Regions from separate parts of the Homo sapiens genome. Here region 1 is linked to region 2. The links are contacts of gene promoters, found by promoter capture Hi-C in blood cells and fetal thymus (Javierre and others, 2016). All regions are on one chromosome and are shown on one strand. The core of a region is centred on a gene start or on the middle of the fragment in contact, and the rest is flanking DNA. Distances in the headings are between cores, read along the strand shown. Region 1 holds the start of ACTR5 (actin related protein 5). Region 2 holds the start of SNHG17 (small nucleolar RNA host gene 17).

Region 1 (2,700 bases), core at 69-2,568, 310 kb after region 2:
CTGCACTCCAGCCTGGGTGACAGAGCCAGACTCCGTCTTAAAAAAAACAAACAACAACAACAACAAACACTGTTAATAGAGGTTCTTGAGATAAGTTAGGAGTTTCATTTCTCGCTTACAATATCTTTTGTAACTAATTTGATTTTATCTCTCAAACTGAAGTGTTATAGACCTGGTAGAGTAGATTCAAGGCAGCTGCTCTATTCTTTTTCTTCTTTCAAAATGGTTATGGCCAGCATGGGCAACATAGTGAAATCCCTTCTCTACTAAAAATATAAAAATTAGCTGGGCGTGGTGGTGCACGCCTGTAATCTCAGCTACTTAGGAGGCTGAGGCGGGAGAATCACTTGAGTCCAGGAAGTCGAGGCTGCAGTGAGCCGAGATCGCCCCACTGCACAAAAAAAGGTTGTAGTAAAACAACTGCTCTAATTCTTACCCCCTTAGCTAGTGAAAAGATGGAAATGCGACAGGATAGAGCGCGACGAGTGCTTTTAGGGCTAAAACTGAGTGGGTCACACACATGGCCTCCTCTCCCACCCGCTCCTGGCCAGAATTTAGTCACATGAGCGCATCTAGATCGCAGCCAGACGGATGGCCACGTGGGAGTGGGAGGTGATGCCACTAAAAGAGAGGGAATGCTTGGGGAACAATCAGCAGTCTTTTCTCAGGGTTTGAGAAAACACTGTGTCTTAGTGAGAAGACACAGTCTGTGCGAGTTAGTAAAGTGAACAGAACTGAGTAGTCAGCTCCCTAGTCAAGAAATTGAACAGTCGGCAGAGTTTGAGATTTCTTAACGTAAAGGAAGCGTCAAAAGATAAAGGACCCTTCTAGCCAGGACGCAAGACTGAGGGCGAGACAGCCACGCGGAGGCGGGGCCGCCGGCGGTCGAAGGTGCGCGCCCGGCCGACGGTGCGCGCCCGGCCGACGGTGCGCGCCCGGCAATGGGGCGTGGCCAGGCAGAGAGGCGGGGCTCCACCGAGCGCGGCGCTGAAGCTGGCAGCCAGAAAGGGGCGGGGCCTGGCGGCGATAGGCTTTGGGGCGGGGCTTCCAAACCGGGCGTCCCGGCTAGAGTGAAGGGGCGTGGGCACTCATAGGCTATTGGGGGAGAGGTTAAGAAACGTAGAATTTCGCAGCCAGAATGGGTACGTCTCAGCGATCCTGAAAGCAGCCTTGACAGCCAGAGGCGAGTCAAGTGGAAAGGCTGGCCGGGCTTCGAGAAGGGAGGGGGCATCGAGGTACTTAAAGGCCTGAATCGCGCGGCGTGACGTCGGGGGCGCGGTTTCGCGGCGTCTGGGCGGACACTGCGCCGAGGGGCGGGGCTGGACGCGCGCTCCAAGATGGCGGCGAACGTGTTCCCGTTCCGCGACGCCCGTGCCGCACCGGACCCAGTGCTGGAGGCCGGCCCGGTGGCACACGGGCCACTGCCGGTACCGCTGGTGCTGGACAACGGGTCGTTCCAAGTCCGCGCTGGCTGGGCGTGTCCCGGGCAGGACCCAGGTCCCGAGCCGCGCCTGCAGTTCCGCGCGGTGTGCGCCCGCGGTCGTGGCGGGGCACGGGGCGCGTCGGGCCCGCAGGTGGGGAACGCTCTGGGCAGCCTGGAGCCACTGCGCTGGATGCTGCGCTCGCCCTTCGACCGCAACGTGCCGGTCAACCTGGAGCTTCAGGAGTTGCTGCTGGACTACAGCTTCCAGCACCTGGGTGTCTCCTCACAGGTGAAGGGCGGAGTAGGCTGGGCTGGGCTGGGTTTGAGGGGAGGGGTGCGGTCTCGTCTCCGCTCACTCTGCTCTCGGAGAGGTAACAGTCACTTCAGTAGCTCCGATTGTCTTTTAGTCGACCAGATGCTAGGCGCTGTGGGTGTAGCAGCGAATAAAATGCTGCTCCTTGTATCTTGGAGCATACCTTTGGGCATATATGCTTGTTTGTTAAGAAGCCCATTTATTAACAAATACGTATTGAGCACTTACTCTGTGTCAGGCACTTTTTAGGCATTTGGAGTACATGTGTGAACACAAAACTTCCTGTGCTTATGGAGCTGTTAATACTATGGAAAGATATTCTAGTATGAAAAGGCAGACAGTAAACATAGAAATAGTAGATTCTACGCCGTGATAGGAGAGGAGGGAGTTACATTTTTTCAGTAAGATGGTCAGGGTAGGACTCGTGAAGGTGATGTTTGAGCAAGGACTTGAAGGAGGTGATTCAGGTAGCAAGCCATGTGAATATCTGAAGGAAAAACGGTCCAGGCAGAGGGAGCAGCCAGTAAAAAGGCCCCGAGGCAGGAGTGTGCCCTAATCCTAACTGCAAGGCTGCCTGTGTGAGGGGGAGAGTAGTACCTGAAAGAGGATGTCAGAGAGGTAGTGGAGAGGCAGATCACACACCTTATAGGCTTTTACTGAGTGAAATGGGGAGCCATGGCAGGGTGTTGAGCTGAAGAAGGACCTGACTTGTGTTTTAAAAGGATCACTATTACTGCTGTATGGAGAATGAATTGTCTTGGATCATAGGGTGGAAACAGGGACGAGTTAGGAGGCTGTTGGAATAACCCAGGTAAGGGATGATGGTGGCTTAGATGAGGCAGATAGCAGGGAATGTCATTAGAAGCAGTTGGATTCTGGAAATACTTTGAAGATAGAGCCAACACGATTTGCTGACAGTTTGGATGGGACCTTGACTTAATAACTTAAATTGACTCTACTTTCG
Region 2 (2,700 bases), core at 131-2,630:
ACTATCAATGACCAGGGCACAGGCAGCCCACGATCACTTTCGAATACAGGTGCAAAAAAGGGCAGGTGAGCCCACGTCAGCGTGTTAGCTGCCAGATCTCCAGAGGGAGGCTCACCCCCCAGGGAAGAGAAGGGTACCCAGGACCCTGAGAGCCATCATCACTTCACAGGCAGATTCCATCTGTCCCCACCCAGAGTCCACAGGAAAACAGACTTCTGGTAAAAATGCCTCGGCTGTACATTCAGCCCACCAGTTCTGAGTATCTACACGTGGACAGGCACCGTGGGTTCAAAATCAAGAAAAACAGCCAAGGCCTCTGCCCTCAGAGAGCCTTTGCAGTTTCCCTACTTTACAGAAAGTCAACCTCAGGGGAATGAAGGAACTTAGCTAGCATGTGACCCCAAGCGCAGCCCGTCTCCTAAGTCACGCTTTGCTCTGCACCCGCTTTGCCAGACAGTTCTCAGAACTCAGAACTGGCTGAGCTCATTGACTGTCCCCTCTACTGCGTCCCACAGAAGGGTCCTTCCCCAAGGTGCGCAGAAGCAGCGGCACTTACCCAGGGGCATTCTCACCCCGCGGACAGTGGAAGCCCCTCAGGGGGTGCAGATCAGAGTGCTGCAGGAGAGAGAGGGCGCTGGCTGGTGCGAAGCCGTCCGAGGTGCAGCACAGCCCACAAGGCCTAGGCAAGGAAAAAGCACGGGGAGGGGGCTTTAGTACAAGGCCCGGGGACAGAAGTCCAGACTCTGCCCCACTGGAGTGCTGGCAGCGTCTTCCATTTAAACCACAGCTAACTGGTCTGTAAAATGAAGGTTCTAACACCTACTTTTAAAAGTTATTGAGGGGAAAACGAGTTAACGGTCTCAAGGACGTGGCACAATGACTGGCACTTTGTAGGCAACAGTCAAGTGGCTTTGGAGGCTTCCAATGCCAGGAGTCGGGGGCGGGCAGCTAAAGTCGCCGAGCCCTGTTTCCCGCCATCCAGGGGCACTAAGCCTCCCCGCAGAGTAGCTGCGCGGACAGGGGGTCTGACGACCGCACGTGGCCCGCTCAGCACTGCCGCGGCCAAGGGCGCGACTCACCTGCCAGTGTCTTTCCCGAGGACACGCGAATCCTGGGGGGCTCACTCCGGCAAAGAGGACGAGACACTGCACCAAGGACAGGGCCTGACCTCTCTGGCCGCCTTCCCCGGGGCCTCAGTTTCCCCCGATGGTGAGAGTGGAGCCGACCATGCGCCCTGCTGTGGACTCACCCGGCGCCCTGGCGTCGAGTGGCGGCGGAGACCTGACAGACAGCGTGGGAAAAATCAAGATGTCTGCAGATTTCGAGAGATGGGGTGCGGTGGCGTGCGATGGCGAAGGACGGCGAGGGACGGCGAAGGACTGAGGCCACACGACAAGGAAGCTACGCTCGTTTCGCGCCGGCGGAAATACAGACGAGAGCGCGAGCTGCGGCCTAGAGCGGTAGGAACCGACGCGAGCAGTCCTGCAGCGTCCCCTGGCGGAGCGGAGGCTCAACGCCAGACTCTGGAGGACTTGGGATAATTTTCGAAAACTATCTGGAAGTTTAGAAGTAAACTTCTCCCACTTGCTTTGCTTTTCTGTTTGTTCTGAAGATGTTCCTTGGTCACTGATTCATTATTAATCTGTAGGAATGGCCAATTTTCCATGATAGGAGCTGTTACTACGATGAGGGGACTGTGCTTAGTTTGGACTTCTTTCTGCAAGGGTCCAAAGGCATCTGTCTTTGATTCACCACTGTACTCAGTACCTAGTTCAGTGACTAGCACAGTTGAATGAATGAATTCTACCCCCGCCCCATTCCTTTTTTTCTGAACAATGTCAGACCGAGATGACTGAGTCATGGCCTGAGACTGGAATGTGAGCGTGAGAAGATGAGCCAAGAGAGATGCACAGCGGGTAACTGCTTTGCTAAACTCCAGCCTCAAAGTACACGGGATGGAGGGTGGAAAGAGTCTCTGAAGCAGAAGAGACCTGACCAGACTGGCATCTGAGGAACCTGATCAGATTTGCACAGTGACAGAGACTGTAGACAGATGTCCCATGTTCCCTGCAACATACTGGAGACAATCTTGGGAGGGGACTCATGGCCCACAAATCCTCATAAGCATTGGCACTGCCTGCACCCTGGGCAGGATGTGCCTCTTCGGCCTGAGACAGCCCTGCTACTGACTCTGCCCATGTTCTGGAGTGCAAGCAGCCCACCCTTGGGCCTGATGAGGAGCCCACGCCCCACCCTCCGCCCCGCTCCAGTCAGATTCTTGGTACTCAATAGGTCAGAAGGACAAGAAAATCCAGTCCTGATCTATGCAACCATGAGGGAAATGGGGGTCCCTGAGGTGAGATCTGCTCCATATTTTGTACCTGGGAGAGGCCCATGGGATTCCCAGACTGTGAGAACACTGGGAGTCTCTGTGATGGGGAGGGGCTGTGGGATGCTGCTATGGTTTGGCTGTGACCCCACCTAAATCTCATCTGGAACTGTACTTCCCATAATTCCCACCTGTCGTGGGAGGTAATGGAATCATGGGGGTGGTTACCCCCATGCTGCGGTTCTTCTGATAGTGAGTGAGTTCTCATGAGACCTGATGGTTTTATAAGGGGCTTTACCCACTTTTGCTCTATACTTCTCCTTGCTGCCACCATGTGAAGAAAGACATGTTTGCTTCCACTTCCGCCATGA

What was found. Contacts are between HindIII fragments. The CHiCAGO score rates a contact against its expected background, and 5 or more counts as called.
Region 1: a contact is called between the fragment with the promoter of ACTR5 here and the fragment with the promoter of SNHG17 in region 2, in 7 of 17 cell types (neutrophils, erythroblasts, fetal thymus and 4 more). The highest score is 12.2, in neutrophils.

The regions. Positions count from the first base shown.
Region 1 is chr20:38,747,142-38,749,841 of GRCh38, forward strand. ACTR5 (actin related protein 5) reads left to right here and starts at 1,319. Exons shown (of 9, transcript NM_024855.4): 1 at 1,319-1,712. The coding sequence starts at 1,338. RefSeq lists silencers at 795-1,064, 1,365-1,554 and an enhancer at 915-1,416. The HindIII fragment of the contact is 9,906 bases long and covers 1-2,700 here.
Region 2 is chr20:38,433,948-38,436,647 of GRCh38, forward strand. SNHG17 (small nucleolar RNA host gene 17) reads right to left here and starts at 1,381. Exons shown (of 8, transcript NR_185934.1): 1 at 1,080-1,381; 2 at 557-679. It overlaps LOC124904958, which reads left to right. Exons shown (of 3, transcript XM_047440636.1): 2 at 516-658; 3 at 895-2,700. The coding sequence ends at 1,541. SNORA71D (small nucleolar RNA, H/ACA box 71D) reads right to left here and starts at 52; the gene lies at 1-52. RefSeq lists enhancers at 1,134-1,423, 1,444-1,503. The HindIII fragment of the contact is 24,063 bases long and covers 1-2,700 here.